Regions from separate parts of the Homo sapiens genome. Here all the other regions are linked to region 1. Evidence: promoter capture Hi-C in 16 types of primary human blood cells and fetal thymus (Javierre and others, 2016). All regions are on one chromosome and are shown on one strand. The core of a region is centred on a gene start or on the middle of the fragment in contact, and the rest is flanking DNA. Distances in the headings are between cores, read along the strand shown.

The links. The method cuts DNA at HindIII sites, captures the fragments that hold promoters and counts their contacts. A CHiCAGO score of 5 or more calls a contact.
Region 2: a contact is called between the fragment with the promoter of ZNF282 here and the fragment with the promoter of ZNF862 in region 1, in 2 of 17 cell types (neutrophils and total B cells). The highest score is 7.1, in neutrophils.
Region 3: a contact is called between the fragment with the promoter of ZNF425 here and the fragment with the promoter of ZNF862 in region 1, in 1 of 17 cell types (neutrophils). The highest score is 5.4, in neutrophils.
Region 4: a contact is called between a fragment that was not itself captured here and the fragment with the promoter of ZNF862 in region 1, in 1 of 17 cell types (naive B cells). The highest score is 5.2, in naive B cells.
Region 5: a fragment that was not itself captured here is called in contact with the fragment with the promoter of ZNF862 in region 1 in 1 of 17 cell types (erythroblasts); the score reaches 5.1 in erythroblasts.
Region 6: the fragment with the promoter of ZNF212 here is called in contact with the fragment with the promoter of ZNF862 in region 1 in 3 of 17 cell types (total B cells, naive B cells and erythroblasts); the score reaches 7.1 in total B cells.
Region 7: a fragment that was not itself captured here is called in contact with the fragment with the promoter of ZNF862 in region 1 in 1 of 17 cell types (neutrophils); the score reaches 6.1 in neutrophils.

What each region holds. Positions count from the first base shown.
Region 1 is chr7:149,837,100-149,839,799 of GRCh38, reverse strand. It overlaps ZNF862 (zinc finger protein 862), which reads right to left and starts at 1,425. Exons shown (of 8, transcript NM_001099220.3): 1 at 1,165-1,425. The coding sequence starts at 1,188. RefSeq lists a silencer at 890-1,349. The HindIII fragment of the contact is 19,921 bases long and covers 1-2,700 here.
Region 2 is chr7:149,194,250-149,196,949 of GRCh38, reverse strand. It overlaps ZNF282 (zinc finger protein 282), which reads right to left and starts at 1,404. Exons shown (of 8, transcript NM_003575.4): 1 at 1,196-1,404. The coding sequence starts at 1,360. RefSeq lists an enhancer at 337-386 and silencers at 827-1,186, 1,307-1,628, 1,447-1,736. The HindIII fragment of the contact is 5,667 bases long and covers 430-2,700 here.
Region 3 is chr7:149,125,069-149,127,768 of GRCh38, reverse strand. ZNF425 (zinc finger protein 425) reads left to right here and starts at 1,445. Exons shown (of 4, transcript NM_001001661.3): 1 at 1,445-1,573. The coding sequence starts at 1,556. It also overlaps the pseudogene RN7SL521P and a transcript of ZNF398 not described here. RefSeq lists enhancers at 466-515, 1,179-1,730, 1,731-2,282, 2,530-2,700 and silencers at 676-1,115, 1,847-2,020. The HindIII fragment of the contact is 7,753 bases long and covers 1-2,657 here.
Region 4 is chr7:149,258,422-149,261,121 of GRCh38, reverse strand. The region is part of intron 1 of LOC124901769 (a long non-coding RNA gene); the gene reads left to right. Among named protein-coding and RNA genes, the nearest start is that of ZNF783, 2.4 kb to the left of the region's middle. The HindIII fragment of the contact is 3,317 bases long and covers 1-2,700 here.
Region 5 is chr7:150,406,893-150,409,592 of GRCh38, reverse strand. It overlaps LOC728743 (zinc finger domain-containing protein LOC728743), which reads right to left. Exons shown (of 3, transcript NM_001395976.1): 2 at 1,105-2,009. The coding sequence starts at 1,981. The coding sequence ends at 1,370. Among named protein-coding and RNA genes, the nearest start is that of ZNF775-AS1, 24 kb to the right of the region's middle. RefSeq lists an enhancer at 2,595-2,644. The HindIII fragment of the contact is 2,546 bases long and covers 77-2,622 here.
Region 6 is chr7:149,238,270-149,240,969 of GRCh38, reverse strand. It overlaps ZNF212 (zinc finger protein 212), which reads right to left and starts at 1,319. Exons shown (of 5, transcript NM_012256.4): 1 at 1,168-1,319. The coding sequence starts at 1,191. RefSeq lists an enhancer at 1,258-1,552. The HindIII fragment of the contact is 6,599 bases long and covers 485-2,700 here.
Region 7 is chr7:149,145,087-149,147,786 of GRCh38, reverse strand. It overlaps ZNF398 (zinc finger protein 398), which reads right to left and starts at 334. Exons shown (of 6, transcript NM_170686.3): 1 at 21-334. The coding sequence starts at 44. It overlaps LOC107986856 (a long non-coding RNA gene), which reads left to right and starts at 426. Exons shown (of 2, transcript XR_007060581.1): 1 at 426-804; 2 at 1,435-2,700. RefSeq lists silencers at 54-225, 1-529 and enhancers at 1-408, 840-889, 983-1,556, 1,557-2,130, 2,131-2,700. The HindIII fragment of the contact is 4,715 bases long and covers 1-2,700 here.

The DNA of each region.
Region 1 (2,700 bases), core at 176-2,675:
TTGGGTTTTGTTGAGCTTTATTGGCTTGGACCACGTACTCTGTAGGTGCCGTGTCTGCTACATGCATCACTGTAGCTTGTGGAGGGAGGGAGGATGGAAGAGATGCTCATGCGAGAAATCACCTCTTTTGAAATTCAGAGTCCTTCCTAGTCTTCCCAGGAAAAACTACAGCATCAAAAGAACCTCATTATCCTTTTCTCTCTTTTCGTGTGGGACAACCCTTTCAGGCGTGTCCAAGTTATTGAAGTGAAAACTGCAGGAGAGCTCCTTGAGAAAGGTGATCATTTCCTATTTATCCTCATACTTCCAGCATCTCGTTCAATGCAAATCACAGATCACAAATGTTTATTAAATGGACAGTTTTTTAAGGGACTCAATAAACAGTCGAAAACGTTTGTTGAGAGAATTCTCCTCTGTGCCAAATAAGAAACAATACTCAAGAACTGGCAGCAAACAACATCCAGAAAGATGTTAGTCCCAAGAGGCTGCCACTGTCTCCAAGCTAATGTGCCCACAACCACACTGGTCTTGGATGACACGGCCTGGAAGCGCTGGCAATCCCGTCAAATCCCTGAACTCCGCCCCCAAGCACTTTCTTTCCACCTTTTCTTCCAACTCAAAGCCTCTTGCCCAAAGCCAATTTATGACACAGGTTTCTAAGCAATGCCCAGATATTCCATGAAGTACATAACCTAGAAACAGAAGTGGCAAAAAGCATGCCAGATGCCCTCTCTTTTCAGCCCTTTCTTGGTAAGGAGGATCTAGGCAGGGTCAAGCCCTCAAGCGTCCCACCCTGCAGCTCCCACTGGCGTCCGATCCAGACTCCAAGCCTTAGCAGGGCCTCTTCAAAACGCCGAAGGTGGTGGGGAAAACAGGAAGCACCTTCGCATCGCTCCACTCGGGGGTCACCCAACCCAGCATCGACCCAGCGGACGCTCGGCAGCTCGGGGAGGATGCGCGGACACCGAACGGAAGCGTCCGCTCCTCTCCGCCACCCTCCCGGGGTCGGGCGCCGAAGTGCGGGAAGAGAGGGCGGGCCGGCGAGTCCTTCCCTGCAAGCCTGGCTCATCTGCGGGGCCTCCGCCCGAGCCGCCCCGCCTCGCCCGAGCCCGGCTCGGGGATCCTCGGGAGGGAGCGGGCGGCCCCCGGGCCTTCCAGTCCTACCTTCCCCGACTCTCTGGGCTCCATGGCCCCGCTTTCGGAGGCCCGTGCCGCCCCCTCCCCCCGCGGCCTGGCCTGAGGATGCAGCCGCCGCGACCGCCCCGGGGACCCAGGCTCCCGGAGGGGGAGGGCACCCAGGTAGGGAGGGAGCGCGGCCCAAGAACTTCGCTCTCTCACGTCGGGGGGCGGTAGCGCCGGTGGACCCAGGATAAGCGCGCTGAGCTGAGACTTGCGTCGCACCGAGCGAACAGCTTTACGGTCACTGCCCAGCCCCAGGCGGCGGGGCGTGACGGGAAGTGTAGTCCGCTCTAGGTGAGCGGCTCTCGAAGCTGCTATTGGCTCCCGGAACGCAGGTCCTGATTGGACGCCGGCGGCGCGCTTGCGACCCTCCCCGCCTCCCTCCGGCGACAGTTACTAGGCAACGGCGGCGTGGCGTCCTTTAGTCCTCTGCAGCAAGGGCAAAGCGCTCTGATTGGGCTACGCGAAGGCCAATGTCAGCCTTGAAGTTCTAGGTTTTCTTTTATTAAGGAGGGCAATACTTTTTGTTCTATTCACTCAAAAAGTATCATTGGTTGCCTACCATGGGTCAGGCCGTGTTCTAGGGTTTGGGAGAACACAGTTGAATGAGACAAAGGCCTTGCCTTCAAGGAACTCACGATCTATTAGGGAATCAGACCAGAAACAGATAATTACAAAACAGAGACAAGGGCTATGAAAGAGGTAAGCACAAAACATGAATTAAAGCCCGCGTTGTCACCTTAGAGTGAAGCGGTGGGGGATATGAGGTGCTTAGTCAAGGATTTCCTGCGGAAGTGATGCCTCAGCAGAATTAAAGCAAGAGGTAGGGTCTGCCAGGTAAAGGAGGTGCAATGGACTGACCGGTGTTCCCCTCCCAGGAGATGGGGCGTTTGGGAGGTTTAGATGAAGTCGTGAGGGTCAGGCCCTTATGGTGGGATTAGTGTCCTTATAAGAAGTTTTGTCCAAGTGCGGTGGCTCACACCTCTAATCCCAACTCTTTGGGAGGCTGAGACAGGAGGATCACTTGAGCCCAGTAGTTTGAGACCAGCCTGTGCAACACAGTGAGAGATCCCATCTCTATAAAAATAAAATAATTTTGTGAGGTGGAAGGATCACTTGAGCCTGGGTGGTCGAGGCTGCAGTAAGCCGGGATGGCGCTTCTGCACTCCAGCCTGGGTGACAGAGCAAGACCATGTCTCAAAAAAAAAAAAGACTTTTAGGGGGCCAGGGCAGGGATGTGCCTTCATGAAGGTGTTAGTGACCACATGCGTGCTGGGGGAACTAGCTAGGCCCTTTGCCCTTCTGCCCCTCTGCCTTCTGCCATGTGAGGACAGAGCAAAAAGGTGCCCTCCTGGAAGCAGAGACCAGGCTCTCACCAGACACAGACACTGCTGGTGCTTTGATCTTGGATTTCCCAGCCTCCAGAATCATAAGAAATAAGTATCCATAATTTATAAATTACCTAGTTCCAGGGATTTTGTTACAGAAGCACATAGAGATTAAGACAATGGTCAACTAATT
Region 2 (2,700 bases), core at 155-2,654, 640 kb after region 1:
GGGGAGGCCTGCTGCTTGGGGCGATCTGGGCAGACCAGCCCCACTCTCTGACTCAAGAGCAGCCCTGCTCCGGGGCAGACCTGCTCCGGGACACAGCAGAGTGGAGAGCAGGGCCCTAGGATCGCCAGGCCCTGTAATACCAGTAAGAGGTGCTGGTGTTTCCATCAAAAGCACCCATTCCTCCATCACAGAGGCTCCACTCCGCCCTAGCCCACAGAAGGGGACAGAGTCCACAGTAGAAGTTAAGAAAGTCCCGGGGCCCAGTTTAGTTTTCTCGGGTTTGAAGCCCTAACCCTGAAAATGATCAAACACAACACAGCAGCCCCTGGCTCCCTCGTTAGCACCTGGCTGAGAGCCGCGTGGTGAGCAGAGGGGCCCCTGAGCAGCCCAGCCCCAGGGTGGGCCCAGAGAGTCTTCCCTGGGCAAGCTTTCAGGCCTCTCTGAGGATCCACCTCCCCTGGTTTTATACCCAATTCTGGAGCACCGGTTCTGCCCACGGAGATCATCGATGGAGCCTGAAGAAATGCCTGGTGCTACTCTCACCCGTCAGAGACCCTGAGCTCTGGGACCAGGCAAGGGCTCAGGAGTCTTAAAAGCTGCCCAGGCCATTCCAACATGCGGCCAAGTTTGTCAACCGCAGGAAAGACCCCGAAGTCATCTCTCCATGGCCCCCTCCCTGGATCACACCCGGTGCAGGGGGAGAGTGAATTACTCATTACACTTGGTGAAAGGTGGTAATCAAACATTTAAAAAATATCCCCGTCAAATTGGCCACCGTGTAAACACGAACGAGGCATTCACTTCTGCGGCCGGGCGGAAGCACTGCCCGCGAAGCTCTCCGCCGGCCGGGCGCAAAGGGAGCCCCAAGCCGGGGCTCAGCCACAGGGTCAGAGCTCTGCCAGGTCCCGGAAAGGACGGTCCCGGCCCCCGCCCCGCGGGGCCTCCGCACTTGGGCCCGGCGACCGCTGCTCCGCGCCGCGCGGGCCAGGCCTGCCCTTCCGGGCCTGCGTCGGGCCCGCTCCGTCCTGCCCGCCGCGCAGCCCGGCCGTGCCCCGCCCGCCTCGGGCCTCGCCTGGGCGCGGAAGCTGGGAGGGCGCCGCAAGGCTACCGGAGGACGGCGCGGCCCGGTCCCGCGGCCCAGCCCGCGCCCCGCCCCCACGGCAGCGCGGCCATGGCGCCGGCGGGGTTCTCCCACCTGCATGGGCGGCATTCCCTCGGCCATTTCCCCGCGCAGCGCCGGCTCCTGGTGGCAGACCTCCTCCGGGGGCAGAGCCTGGGCCCAGCTCCAGCTCCCGCTGTCCAGCCCCAGGCCCTGGATGCCCAGCTGCTGAGGCTGCGGCCGTGTTGACACAAACTGCATCCTGGGAGTGCTGTTCCCCGCTCGGGTCGGCCAGGGAGAAGAAGAACGTTTTCCAGGCGCCTTCCCCCTCTCCGGGGCCGGACAGCTCCATCTACAGCCCGTAGGAGCAAACAGTCCCCTTCGGCGGCGCTCCCCGCCCCTTGGCAGCCCGCGCGCCAGCCAATGGCCTCGGAGCTCCTGCCCGCCTGCGGGGACCTACCGGGGCCACTCCCGGACTGGGGTCGCCACCGCCCCAAAACTGAGAGGCGGCGGCCTCGCCCAGGGGTCAGGCCCCCTCAATCTGGGATGGCCGACTTTAAAGGCCCAAACTATGCGAGGACCTGGACTGTGGGCTTGATTACTGTTAATTCTGCAAATGTATTGGGCATCCCGGGAGAAAATAGTGCCTGACCCTTGTGAAAATTTTGCAGGAGTAATTCTGTCTTCAGACACTTTCTTCTGGCCTTCTGCCTTCCCTCACTCCTTTGCAGACTTTACCTCCCACTCCCCTTCTTCCCAATCCAGATTTACCTGGACCCATCCCAGAGCTTTTGCACTGTTATGGATGATAGAGAAGTGATTCATGTTAAGGTGTCAAAAGAGGGCTGAGCTCTTTCTCCCAGGTAAGGTGCAGTGCATTTTAACAGTGGCCTCTTCAAACACCTTGAAATTGGGTTGGGCGTGGTGCCTCACACCTGTAATCTCAGCACTCTGAGAGGCTGAAGCAGGAGAACGACTTGAGCCCAGGAGTTCGAGACCAGACTGAGCAACATATTGACACCCCATCCCTATAAAAAATAAAAATTAGCCGAGCGCGGTGGCTCACATCTGTAATCCCAGCACATTGGGAGGCTGAGGCAGGCGGATCACCTGAGGTCAGGAGTTCGAGACCAGCCTGGCCAACATGGTGAAACCCCGTCTCTACTAAAAATACAAAAAGATTAGCCGGGCGTGGTGGCGTGGGCCTATAATCCTAGCTACTCGGGAGGCTGAGGCAGGAGAATCGCTTCAACCTCCGAAGCGGAGGTTGCAGTGAGCCAAGATCGCGCCAGTGCGCTCCAGCCTGGGCAACAGAGCGAGACTCCATCTCAAAAAATAATAATAAGGCCGGGCGCCGTGGCTCACGCCTGTAATCCCAGCACTTTGGGAGGCCAAGACGGGCGGATCACGAGGTCAGGAGATCGAGACCATCCTGGCTAACACGGTGAAACCCCGTCTCTACTAAAAATACAAAAAAATTAGCCGGGTGTGGTGGCGGCGCCTGTAGTCCCAGCTACTCGGGAGGCTGAGGCAGGAGAATGGCGTGAACCCGGGAGGCGGAGCTTGCAGTGAGCCGAGATCGCGCCACTGCACTCTAGCCT
Region 3 (2,700 bases), core at 196-2,695, 710 kb after region 1:
TTTACACCCAAAGAAACGTTAGTTTTTTTGTTTGTTTGTTTTTGGTTTTTTTGAGATGGAGTCTCCCTCTGTCGCCCAGGCTGGAGTGCAGTGGCGCGATCTCGGCTCACTGCAAGCTCCGCCTCCCGGGTTCACGCCACTCTCCCGACTCAGCCTCCCTAGGAGCTGGGACTACAGGCGCCCGCCACAACGCTCGGCTATTTTTTTTTTTTTTTTTTTTGTATTTTTAGTAGAGACGGGGTTTCGCCGTTAGCCAGGATGGTCTCGCTCTCCTGACCTCGTGATCCGCCCGCCTCCGCCTCCCAAAGTGCTGGGATTACAGGCGTGAGGCACCGCGCCCATCCGAAACGTTAGTTTTAATGTAAGGTTTTTTTTTTTTAACCCTTTAATCAGTAAGGTGCATCTACATTTCACGATTCCGGGACAAATACAGATGTGCACACGCTCCTCAGCCTATGCAGGGACTACTTTCTCATGGACATCCTTTCTAACTACACACTTTTCATTTGTTACTTTAGCCTGACACCTAAAACATGACTAGGACAGAATGCGAGGTTGATTTTCTGGGGACAGTCGCCACCCCCTTCCTTGCCCTCTCTCTCCTTTCTGTCTCTCCCTGGTTTCCCCTTCTGCGTCTTCCCACCTCTCCCGTTTTTGCGTCTTCGTGTTTCTCACGCCCTGTGTCATGGCCTCCTCCGTCTTCTCCCGCTCTGTCACAGTCTCCCGCCGGGGGCTAGGGGTGCCCGGCCCGCATCCCTGGGCGACCCTGAGTCCCCGCAGGCGGCCCCGAGGCCGGGGTGGCTTCCGCATGGGGTCTCTGCCCGAGGCCTTTCTCTGCCAAGGAGGGAGTGTGGACGCTCGGGGAGCCCAGAAGGGCGCTGCACCCACGGGGACCGGACGTGGTGGGCGGACCCCTCCTCCGCGTCCCCGACGGGACATGCCCGGGGCCCACACGGCCTCCGCGCCCCCGGCGGGACGGACACCCCGGGCCACCGCGCGCCCCCCACCACCTACCCGGCCTCGCTGGATTCCCGGGACCCCCTCACAAACGAAACCCTCGAGCTCATCCCTGACTTGGGGGCAGCTTTGGAAGGAACAGCACCGGACTCTCACCCTCTCGCTGCCTCTCAGTCCGGGTTTCTGTGGAGCGCGTCTCCCAGTCGCTGTCCCTACTCTCTCCCTGTTCCTGCTCTCTCCATGTTCACCTGCCCCTCCGTTTCCCCTCCCGTCAGCTCCCTCATCTCGTCTTCGACCGCATCCCTCGCATGCAGATCCGGGAGTCCAAGGGTCCCTCAAAGACCGGCGTGCTGCGGCCCGCACGGAGGGTGCCCGGGCCCCTCCTCTGAGGACCGACTCCCTCTGGCGGCGCCGCTCCTCCCGCCCGCAGGGGGCGCTATGGGGCGGAGCGGCTTCCGCTTCCGAGCGCCGAGTCCCAGCATGCACCGCGCCCGGCCGGCTCTGCCTTTGGGGGCCAGCAGGGCTGTACCTGGGAGTTGGGTTGGGGCGGAGCGGAGGGGAGGCCGTGCCAGGCAGGGCCGGTTCGTGCGGAACCGCCATGGCCGAGCCGGCTTCGGTAAGAAGGGCCGGTGGAGGATGCAGGCTCTGTCGAAACTCGGGTCCCTGTCGCAGCTGGATTGGGGTCCGCGTCCAGGGAGTGGGGCGGCCGGGGCCTGGGCCTGGGGGTTGGCAGTGGCCCACGGACTGAGCTCCGGGCTGGGCTGGAGAAGGTGCAGTCTTGCTGCGTGTGCTGTTCTGGAATTGACCTGGGGAAAAGCTGGTCTGGCCGGGCTTGGCCGCGCGCGTCTGTGGCCCCGGCCACTCGGAAGGCTGAGGCGGGAGCAGCGCTTGAGCCCGGGAGCTCTGCGCTGTATATGCGCTAGGTCCGTCGCGCGGTGCCTCTGAGTTCTGCATCTGTGTGGTGACCTCTCGGGAGCGGGGACCACCAGGTTCCCCAGGGAGGGGGAACCGGCCCAGCTCGGAAACCGAGCAGGGCAAAACCCCAGTGCTGATCGTTAGTGGGATCGCGCCTGTGAATAGCCACTGCCCTCCAGCCTGGGCAACAGCCAGACCCCGTCTGTTTAATACATAAATAAAAGTTGGTTTGGGAGAAAGAATCCGGGTGGGAAAGATCTGTTTCTCGGCCTGTTGTAGGCTCAGATCAACAACGCTGTCCCTGCCTTCAGTGTCGGGGCTCTGAACCTCGGGGTCTCTCTGGGGCCCGTGCTCTCCTGCTGAAGGTAGTTTCAGAGAAGCACATCAGTGTTAAGCAGATGAGAAAAAGGAGAAGGAAAGCTGGAACTGAGAGAAATTGGAGACCGCTCCCTCTAGGAAAGGACAGAAAACTTAAAATGAATTGGGTGGTTAGCGTAAATCGAATTTACCGTAAATGCTGTAGTATTGTAATGTAGTATTGAAAATTTGAGCACCGGTTTTAGAGTTTGAAAGGCGTATCCTGAGGCTTAATCCAAGAAACCCTGTTACATTCAGTTAAGTATAACTTGCTTAAGTGTGCAAGTTTTTCTTGTGCCCCCAATGAAATTTTATAATCTTAGGAATGTAATGCTCCTTATTTGCATTTGATTCTTCCCTTTTGCTTCCCACTCCTTTTCCCCACCCTCCTTTGGCAGGTACAGATTCTTTTCTGATTTCTCCAAGCTTTGTTTCTACAGCCAGGCTTTCTTTTTTTCTCTCCTCTTTAAG
Region 4 (2,700 bases), core at 153-2,652, 580 kb after region 1:
AACCCCAAAATTTGCGGAAAGGTTAGGACGTGTTACTTTAAGGTAACAAATCAAATAAATATTTGGCATTATTCATTTTGGAAATTCTTGTTGAACTATCCCAATCTAAAACACAAACTGCAAGTATGCACTAAAGACATTAAGAGCATCCCTAGGATCTTATCAGGGATCAGTCCAATCTATTCAGGATTATAAAATACCAGTAAATGGTGACGTTATAGAATAACAGTTAAGGTCCAATGCAAACAGAAAGGGTCAGGAAAATGGGCCAGGAGCCGTGGCTCATGCCTGTAATCCCAGCAGTTTGGGAGGCTGAGGCGGATGGATCACCTGAGGTCAGGAGTTCGAGACCAGCCTGGCCAACATGATGAAACCCCATCTCTACTAATACAAAAAATTAGCTGGGTGTGGTGGTGAGGTACTCTGGAGGCTGAGGCAGGATAATCGCTTGAACCCGGGAAGCAGAGGTTGCAGTAAGCCGAGATCATGCCATTGCACTCCAGCCTGGGCAACAAGAGCAAAACCCCATCTCAAAAAAAAAAAAAAAGAAAAAGAAAGAAAGAAAGGGTCAGGAAAATGGGCTGGAGACAAAAATGCTAGGATTTAATGAGCTCTGTTGAGGAAAGAGTGCTATAATGTTTGACAGCTAGTCTTCGTTTTTTAGAAAAAAAGTTTCTCTAAGTCAGTGGTACTCAAACTTCAGTGTGCATCATGTTCACTGAGGGTTCTTGTTAAAAATACAGGATGCTAGGCACAAACCTCAACATTTCTAGGTCTGAAACAGGAGGGGATGAAAGTGATGCGAATTTGCAATTCTAACTAGTTCCCAAGAAATGCTGATTCTATTGGTCTGGTGATCACAGTTCGAAAACCTTGGCACTGTTTATCAGGGTCCCACAGCTACCTCCCATTCCCATGCTCAGATTTTATAAATATATTTAATAAACGAACACTTTGCACCATAATGTGGTTTCTGAGCAGACCAGCCGGGGTGTCAAGCCAGCTCTGATATAAATTAAAATTACATGGTGGCTTTTTTTTTTTAAGACGGAGTTTCGCTCTTGTTGCCCAAGATGAAGTGCAATGGCACGATCTCGGCTCACTGCAACCTCCACCTCCCAGGTTCAAGAGATTCTCCTGCCTCAGCCTCCCGAGTAGCTGGGATTACAGGTTCCTGCCACCATGCCAGGCTAATTTTTAGTATTTTTAGTAGAGACGGGGTTTCACCATGTTGGCCAGGCTGGTCTCAAACTCCTGACCTCAGGAGATCCACCCACCTCGGCCTCCAAAAGTGCCGGGATTACAGGCATCAGCCACCACGCTCAGCCTACATTCATCTTTAATTGTTAATCTGTCTCTTGTGAGTTTGTTTTTTGGGGGATCAGATTTCCAGGACCTGATTATCTCTGGGTGAACTGACAACATCCAGTGGAGGCCCAGTCCGTGGAGTAACAAGGGTGACTCCACCTGCAGAAGGTAGGGTTGTCACAATTTGAGGGCCACCAAAGTAGTACCCAGGGTCACTCAACAAGAGGTCAGCACACTCAAGTGCCATTGTCCCCACCAGAACATCCTCAGCCAAGAGATAGTGGCAGGTCAGAGACAGAATTCCTGTGGCTCCCTCATCCTCCAAGCCAGGAATGTAATTTAGATTAGGAGGTGGACCCACACAGAATTATAAAGATGTTAGGAACGGAAGCATTAGTAGAGGGAGACCAGAAGTACAGCCAAATCCCACTTCCTCCATAGAAGCCTTCTCTATTTCAGACAACACCCAGCTCTCTATTCTGTGAACACCCATTATACTTTCTCATTCAGCAAACATTTGCTGAGCACCTATGTGCCAAGCACCTGTGCTGAGAGCTGTGGAGGCTGATAGGAGTAAGACATGGTCCCTCCTGAGGCCAGGCGCGGTGGCTCACGCCTGTAATCCCAGCACTTTGGGAGGCCGAGGCGGGCGGATCACGAGCTCAGGAGATCAAGACCATCCTGGCTAACACGATGAAACCCCGTCTCTACTAAAAATACAAAAAATTAGCCGGGCGTGGTGGTAGGCGCCTGTAGTCCCAGCTACTTGGGAGGCTGAGGCAGGAGAATGGCCTGAACCCAGGAGGCGGAGCTTGCAGTGAGCTGAGATGGCGCCACTGCACTCCAGCCTGGGCGACAGAGCAAGGCTCCGTCTCAAAAAAAAAAAAAAAAAAAAAAAAATGGTCCCTCCATTCCCACAGCATCACATCCTGTGACTGTTTCTTGGTCTTATCTATTGTTCCCTTCCCACTGCAGCTGCACCCAATCAGGTAGGTCCTCACTGGCTCTTCCTTGATCTCACTTGAAACCTTCTAACATATCCCAAACCTCACACCCCCCAAAAAGCACAGTATAATTCTTATTAGTATTCCCAAATCACAGCTAGAATCAGGTCACTCTTTTGCTCAAAATTCTTCAGCTCCCCATTATCAACCGAATAAAATCCAGACTCCTTGAAGCCTGACCCAACTCTTAACACCCACTACTCTCCTTCTCACACTCCACCCTCCCGAAATTGGATGAACTCCTCTTCTGTACATGTCCCATAATGTCTCCTGACTTGGTCATGTCACCTCCATTTAGAATGTCCTTCCTCCCATCCTTAAAAGGCCAGTTCAAATACCACCTATCACGAAGTCTTCCCTAATGTCTCACATCTAAAATAATTGTTCT
Region 5 (2,700 bases), core at 100-2,599, 570 kb before region 1:
GGGATTCAGAATCCAAAACAAAGCCCTGGCTTCCACCTGTTGTACCCCTAAGTACCAACTGTGGTGTAGGCAAGCTTGGCAAACCTGTTTCCTCATCTGCCAAAAGGCTGAAGAGGCCCGTGCCTCAGAGCGCCAGCTTGGAACCAGAGGTCCTGGAGCAGAGTCCTGGCTGCCCCCTTTCTCACTGCCAGACCTTGGCCAGGCCTCTTAGCTGGGGGCCTTATGTTCTCTTGCCCAGATGACCCAAGCCCCTCGAGGCTCCAGCTCTTCCCACATCAGTCTGTCCTCACAGTGCCTCTGATTCTCCTCCTAAAGCATAAGTCTGAGATCATAGCACTCATCTCATTAAAAATCTCAGTGTCCCCACCCCCTGACCACGAAGTCCTTTGTAGGGCAAACCTCCCCTTGGGACACCTGGAGACAGTCACTGAACTATCAGGACCCCCCCTCCCTTGAAAACACCCTTCTACACACTTGCTCTTCCTAGAACAATTTTATTTGTCCCCATGACCTGGTTCAAAGCCATCAAACTCCCCTGGGTGACGAAGAGAAACCAGTCACCCTCCTCGGTCTCACCCCAGAGCACTTTGTAGGTTGGCCCCGCGTCACACACCGAGTGTGAGCACCCCGTGTCAGGGCCTGCGGTCCTCATGTGTGTCTCTGGGAGAGCCCAGCCCGGCACAGTCAGTGGCACATGGTGTGGCAGAATCAACTAAGGCTCTGTGCACCAGTGACCTCACCCTCTCTCATCCAGTAGCTGCAATATATCCCAGCGAGGAAGAGTCCCTCATCTATATCCCCAACTTACAGATGAGTAAACTGAAACATGAAGTGAAATGACATCTCAAGGACAGCAGAGAGTGTGTACAGGAGCCAGGAGGCCTAGGGGCTGAGGTTGGGCGTGGGGTTTGTGGAAAGTGGCCTCTCCAAGTCTCTTTCAACTCTGACATTCTGGGGATGAAGATCCGGTAAGCAGCTCATCACAGAGAAACCTACAGCCCGGTACCCAGACCGCCCCACCTGCCATCAAGAATCAACACCACGCACTCCACCCCCACCACTCCCAGCCCTGAGAGGGGCTCTGGCCAGCCCCGCAGGTCTCACCTGCTCTAGGCCGGATGGGCCAGAGAAGGAGAACCATGGCAGGAGCCGGAAGCAGCTGTGCGCAGCCAGCCAGAGGGTCCCGAGGGAGGAACGCGAGCGGGCGGCCGGAGCCTGGCGGCGGCCCACACCTTCAAGAGCCCAAGCCAGCGCTGCCCCTCTCCCGGGATCCCATCTAGAGAGGGAGCTGCGGCCCAGGGCCATCTCCAGGGGTCGGGGACGCACGTGCGGGGCGGGAAGCAGCCGTCGGCAGCAGGCCCCGGGCGCATCATAGCACGCGTCCTAAGTGGGCCGCCTGGCCCTCGGGCCCGTGGCCGTGGCTGCGCTGATGGGTCTTGAGCGAGCCCTCGCGCGCGAAGCTCTTGCCGCAGCGGGGGCAGAAGTAGGGCCGCCGCTCCCCGAAGACGCCGGGGCGGCGCGGGTGCGGCGCGGGCATGCGCGCGTGGGTGCGCTGGTGGTTGAGCAGGAAGCGCGGCTCGCGGAAGCAGCGGCCGCACTGCGCGCACTGGTGCGGCTTCTCGCCGCTGTGGATGCGCTGGTGCGTGAGCAGGTTCTGCTTGAGGCTGAAGCAGCGGCCGCACTCGGGGCAGGGGAAGGGCCGCTCCCCGGTGTGCGTGCGCTGGTGCACCTCGAGGTTGTGCTTGACGCTGAAGGCCTTGCCGCACTCGGGACACACGAAGGCAGCCGCGCGGCCCGCTCCGGCGTGCGCCTTCTGGTGCCGCACCAGGCTGGGCTGCTGCGAGAAGGTCTGGCCGCACAGCGGGCAGCGGTAGGGCTGCTCCTCTGCAGGGTGGTGGATGACCAGGCCTCGCTCGTCCCCCAGACCCTCCTCCCCGTCCCCCGCAGGGGACCCGCCCCCGGAGGACGCCAGCTCGGTCATGGGCACTTCCAGCTGCAATCACCAGTCCCTAGGGAGACAGAAGCGGGGGCGGGGGTGGGGGGTGGAGAGAGAGGGGTCGGGGAACACGAGGGTTAGCCAACCCCCAGCCTGGCAGGGACACTCACCTCCCACAACCTCCACCTTTCGCCCCGTTTTGTTCAAGCTCAAGTTCCCCTGCTGGGAATTGGTGTTCCTCTTCCTCCACTGCCTTTTAAGCACGGCCTACACTCCTTCCAGTCCCTTCCCAAGGGCACCTTCTCCTAGAAGCCTTCCCTGACCTTTCCACCCCGGGCTTAAACACCGTGTGACACAACCATGTGGCTCTCACTGATCATACTGCACGAGGGTCAGTCATGCCACCTCTGTCCCCCGACTCCCAGCACCCTAAGGACAGAGCTGCCTTCTTTCAACCCCAGCACCTAGCACCATGCCAGCCAGCCACACAAGACACTAGACAGATGGTGATGAGTTTCAGTTAGGATTTTCAGTTTCAGTTTCAGCTAGGATTTTCAGTTACCTTCGTCTAGATATGTCTTATCCCTCCAACCAGATCTCAAGGACAGGGGGAGGTAGGGAAGTGCACCCCAAACTTGGAGAAAAGGGTGGCATTATCAGTGATTTAAAGATATTTTTGTGAAGCTTAAAACAGGAAAAAAAACACAACCCTGTAAACTTGAAAGTGACCTCGGTTAAACATTAAAGGCGGCAGCTCTTTGTTT
Region 6 (2,700 bases), core at 70-2,569, 600 kb after region 1:
TAATATTGTAAACATTTGTGTCTTGTCTTCCCAATTCAACTGTTAACTTCCTTGAAAGCAAATACTGTGTTCTCTAAGTCTCCCAATCTCTCCGTTCTTAGTTCTTAACGCACTTTCTACAAGAATCAAATATAGCGCACCCTGCTCATGGTCAAATTTTCCCCACAGAATTTCCTTAGCCCTCCATTCTCACAAAGATCTAACATGATTCTCGAAGTGTTTCTAGACCAAGGAACACTTCATTAAAAGTCAATTCAATTCCAGCTGCCCCTTCCGTTGCAAACCCTCTGGTGTTGTTAAATTAACCACTACTTTGAAACAGTATGGGAACAGTATGAGAATGTCGGAGCTGGAAGGAAACTTAAAGCCTTGGAGATCATCTAGCAACTACTCCAACACTCTCGATTTACAGTTAAGAAAACGAAAGAGACCCAGAGAAGCGAACACAGTTGCCTAAAATCACCCAAATGGACAGCTGAAAGCTTCGTGACTCCACAAATAGGATTTTCCTCACACCAAACTCCGTATCTTGACATTCCCAGAATGGGGATGGTCGGTGGGCTGGGAGGGGGGTGTTGGGGGGGGGGTGAAGGAGAGAGTTTGGGCAGCTCTACAAACAAAATGCAGCAACTGCACTGTAGATAACATCCGTCCCCAAGGAGAAGCAGCCCAGGCTGACTTCAACCTGTGGCTGCAACCCCCAGACAGAAATCTGCAGCACTGGAAAAACCGACAACACATCGGACCGAAGAGGAGGTGGTCGCAGAGAGGCAAGTCCTGGGGTCTCCCGGGCAGCGGGAGAGCTCACTCGTAGCGACGGAGACCGTTTCCAATCTGGAAACACTCCAACCTGGGAACGGGCTCTTTTGGCACGAAAGAGAAAATGTGTGGGCAGGGTCACAAATCCACCAACCTAAAGCAAGCGTCAGAGAAGTTTCTGGGCAAGGGCGCACGGCGCCGAGGCTCCGACCCCGCTGCAGAAGGAAGCGGAGGGAAAAAAGGGCAGAGCACTGGGGTCGCGAAGAGGAGGGTCCGCGTTCACCCGCGCCAACGGCAGCCCCGGGAAACCAAGACCCCGGCGGCGTCCAAACCGCGAAGCCCCGCCCCCGGCAGGGGACTCCGCCATCCCCAACGCGCCCTCGAGCCAGCGCGCCGGTGCCTCTTTACCCGAGCAGGCGCCGACTCCGCCATGGCTCCAGTCGCCCCTCAACACCCAGACCCCGCCTCGGAGCCCCCGTGCTGCGTTCCTGTCCGCTCGGCGCCCCAGAGCCTGTTGGAAGCCGCCGCCGCCGCCGCCGTGTTGATGCCAGGTGCATTCTGGGAGCAGCGACCTCCCCGGCACAAGACCGGCTCCAGCCGCTCTTCCTCACTGTGCAGGCTTCCCATTGTGCCCCCGTGCGGCGGGAGGGAGAACGCTGCTTGGCACTCCCGGCCAGAGTGCGGGCACCAGGAGGGCTCAGTCACTCAAAAGTCAAGACCAGGTTCCGCGTTTCAGGCAAAGCCACGGGATCCTGCTGTCTTCCGTATGCCCAGCACTCTGCTAAATGCTTTGAGGGATTCAAAAATGTGTACAACTCAGACTTTTTGCTGAGGAAAGAACATGTAATGTTGTTGGGGAAAAGAAATATGGTTCCAAAAGGCAAGTGATTTTATTCCAAAAGTTCACCTGTTATTTGGCTTTTTAGAAACTGGGAACAGTTTCCATATCAACAGTGTGGAGCGTGGGGTCAGGCCCAGGCCAGCCCTCTGTAGCCTGTTAATTATGGTAATCATGTGCCTTGGAAAGTCCAAGACAACCCTGATTTCAAATATTTCCAGTCCTCATGCTACATGTAAGACGATGTGTCTGGAATTTTTGTTGGAAAGCACGGCCACATGACCATTTAATCGCCATGTACTTAATCCCCAATACCAGCAACACTACGGCAACCATAGCTGCCTAATTTATACCATTGTCTCTCTGGAGACAAGCAATGAACTTCCACTTCACAGGATAGGCGTGAAGTGTTTCCTCTGAGAACGAAACTTTTTTTTTTTGAGATGGAGTTTCGCTCTTGTTGCCCAGGCTGGAGTGCAATGGCGCAATCTCGGCTCACTGCAACCTCCACCTCCCGGGCTCAAGCGATTCTTCTGCCTCAGCCTCCCTAGTAGCTGGGATTACAGGCATGTGCCACCACGCCTGGCTAATTTTGTATTTTTAGTAGAGACGGGGTTTCCCCATGTTGGTCAGGCTGGTCTCAAACTCCCGACCTCAGGTGATCCGCCCACCTCAGCCTCCCAAAGCGCCGGGATTACAGGTGTGAGCCACCCCACCCGGCGGAGAACGAAACTTTTAAGATCATGACTGGCTCCTTCCTCACATGCAGGGCTCAGTTCAGATTCTACATCCTCAGAGAGATATCCCCAGTCCCCCCTTTCTACAGCCCCACACCATCCTCCATCTCAATACTCAATCTCGTTACCCTGCTGGAAATTTTTCATACCATTTATCACCATCTGAAGTAATCTCTCTTTTTCACTCATTTACATATTAATTATCTGTATCTCTTCCACTGAAATGTCTGTCTACTGTATCCTCCATTTGTTGTACACAGAAGTGTTCATATTTGTAAATGATTGAATGGTGAATCAGAGTGTAAGGATATGAAATGTCATCTCAAACAGAGGCATTATTTCCAGGGCAACTAGATCAACGGGCAC
Region 7 (2,700 bases), core at 156-2,655, 690 kb after region 1:
TCGCGCGCGGCCGCCCTTACCGGGGCCGGGGCCGCCTCAGCCATGGCCCTGCGCTGTCTAGCCCGGGCCTCGGAAGTCGCCGCCGCTGCCGCCGCTGCCACCGCGCCCGGCTCCAAGCAGGCCCGGCCGCCGGGTCCTCTCCACAGGCGGCGCCGACCCGGCCCTGCCTTCCCCGCACGGACGGGACTCACGCGGCCGTCGGGGCTCGGGACGCGCAGGAACGCGGCGGAGGCGCGGTGCAGCAGGCGGCGGATCAAGCTGGGGTCGCGAGGCCGACTCCGCCGCACTCCACCCGCAGCGGCCCCTCAGCTGGCGCTTTGTGGGCAGCGAGTGCACCGGGAACCGCGCGGGCCTAGACGCGCCGCAGGCTCGCGCTGCCCAGCCACCGCGGCCAGCGCGCCCCCTGCCGGCCCCTGCGGCCAGCGCCCCCCGCGTCGCCTCCGCCCCTCCCCCCCAGCTCTTGGGCTTCGGTGTGGGGAGGGTTGTTATTTGGGGCCCACGTGTGTTCCGCTTTCTCACATTCCCACGAGAAGGTTCAGCTCACCGCAGTTTAGGACCCAGCCGCAAAGCCGGGCTCATTCTGGGGAGTGATTTTCTTCACGGAGGCTCGATACGCAGGCGCCGTCTGCAGGCAACAGCTTCTGCTGAAGGGCAGCCGTATTTAGAACAGCGGAAATGTGCAGGGTGAGAGTAAGGGGGACACGGCTGAAGGGAGCCTATGGGTGGAATGAGTGACGGAGAGGCACAATTTTGGAATGAAGAAGATATAGATCATTTGCGGAAATTACAAATGTGGTTGCCAAGGTGAGGCGGTTCAGGTCCCACGCGGCCTGTGTTGGGATCAATAATATTTTAAGGTCTCCTTCACATCTCGGATTATTGACTCTCCGGGGCCTGGTCTGGAAATAGGATTCTTAATTTTTGTTTATTTATTTATTTAGAGACGGAGTCTCACTCCGTCGCCCAGGCTGGAGTGCAGTGGCGGGATCTCGGCTCACTGCAACCGCCTTCCGGGTTCAACCGATTCTCCTGCCTTTGCCTCCCAAGTAGCTGGGATTACAGGCATGTACCACCATGCCCAGCTAATTTTTTTTTTTTTAAGTGGAGACGGGGTTTCACCATGTTGGCCAGGCTGGTCTGAAACTCCTGACCTCAAATGATCCACCCGCCTTGGCCTCCCAAAGTGCTAGGATTACAAGCGTGAGCCATTGCGCCCGGCCTTATTTATTGATTTATTTAGAGACAGTCTCCCTCTGTCGTCCAGGCTGGAGTGCAAGTGGCACAAACAAGGCTCACTGCAGCCTTAAACTGCTGGGCTCAAACGATCCTTCCCCTCAGCCTGCCCGAGCATCTTGGACTACAGGCGCAGCTACCAAGCCCGGCTAATGTTTTATTTATTTGTATTTATTTATTTACTTATTTATTTTTCTGTAGAGACAGGGTCTCGCTATGTTGCCCAAGCTGGAGGAAGTGGAATTCCTGAGAGCAGCAGAGATCGAGCTTGGGGTTACGGTTTGCTGCGTCTGAGCAAAAGGACCTGCGAGAACAGGCCGAGCGCAGTGGCTCACGCCTGTAATTCCAGCACTTTGGGAGGCCGAGGCGGGCAGATCACCTGAGTTCCAGACCAGCCTGGCCAACATGGTGAAACCCCGTCTCTACTAAAAAATACAAAAATTAGCCGGGCGTGGTGTCGTGCACCTGATATTCCAGCTGCTCCGGAGGCTGAGGCAAGAGAATCGCTGGAACCCAGGAGGCGGAGGTTGCAGTGAGCAGAGATGGCAGCACTGCACTCCACCCTGGGCGACAGAGCTAGACTCCATCTTAAAAAAAAAAAAAAAAAAAAAGGACCTGCGAGAACAAAGTGTTTTCTGGTGAGGTTGTGTTTTAAGTCAACAGAGTGTGTGTAACAGCAGTAGGTTCCTTGCCCAATGCACATAGCAAGTCTATATGCAGAGACACCAGGTTGCAGCAGAGAAAGAGGTCTAATCATAGGGCCACCTAAGGAGGAGACAGGAAGAAGCCTCACATCCATCTCTGCTAGGAATTTGGGAATTTGGGGTTAGAGTTTGTAAGGGTAATGGAGTTGACTGATTGGTGGGAGAGTGCTGGTGAAATCGTGGTACAAGGAGATGAAGAAACTACATTCTCATGCTCATCCCATTCCTCTGTGGGGGGTCTTCAAACTGGTTGAACTCAACTGTTTCACCGGAACTCGTGGTCTGAAAAACATCTTAAGCGATCCTTAAACAAAAGCCTTATGATTCTAATGTCAGAGATCCTGTCTACAGGAACAACAGGGATGCAAATCAATTCTTAGTCTGATGTCTGAAATCCTATCTATAGGAACAATAGAGATGCAAATGTCAGTATCTAGTGCCTTGTGACTATTAGCAACAAGGAAGTAGGCCGAAGTGCAGCCTGATTAATGCTTAATTATAACTATATTTCTGTCCAGAACCTGCATGCAATTTTTGTGAACCCTGTTGGGGCGGTTTCATGTGTGTGGTGATAGGATAAGCACATGACCCTGGTTTTCCAGGAAGTCTTCATTTCAAACATGTATGAATCAAACCCTGCTAAACCTGTATTTCAACACATGAATCAAGTCAATGCCCATAACAGTATAACTATCTGTAAATCACAAAAGTATGAGAACTATCCTGTTGGGGCAACTGCTCTTGAGCAGACTAAGTTACTTTT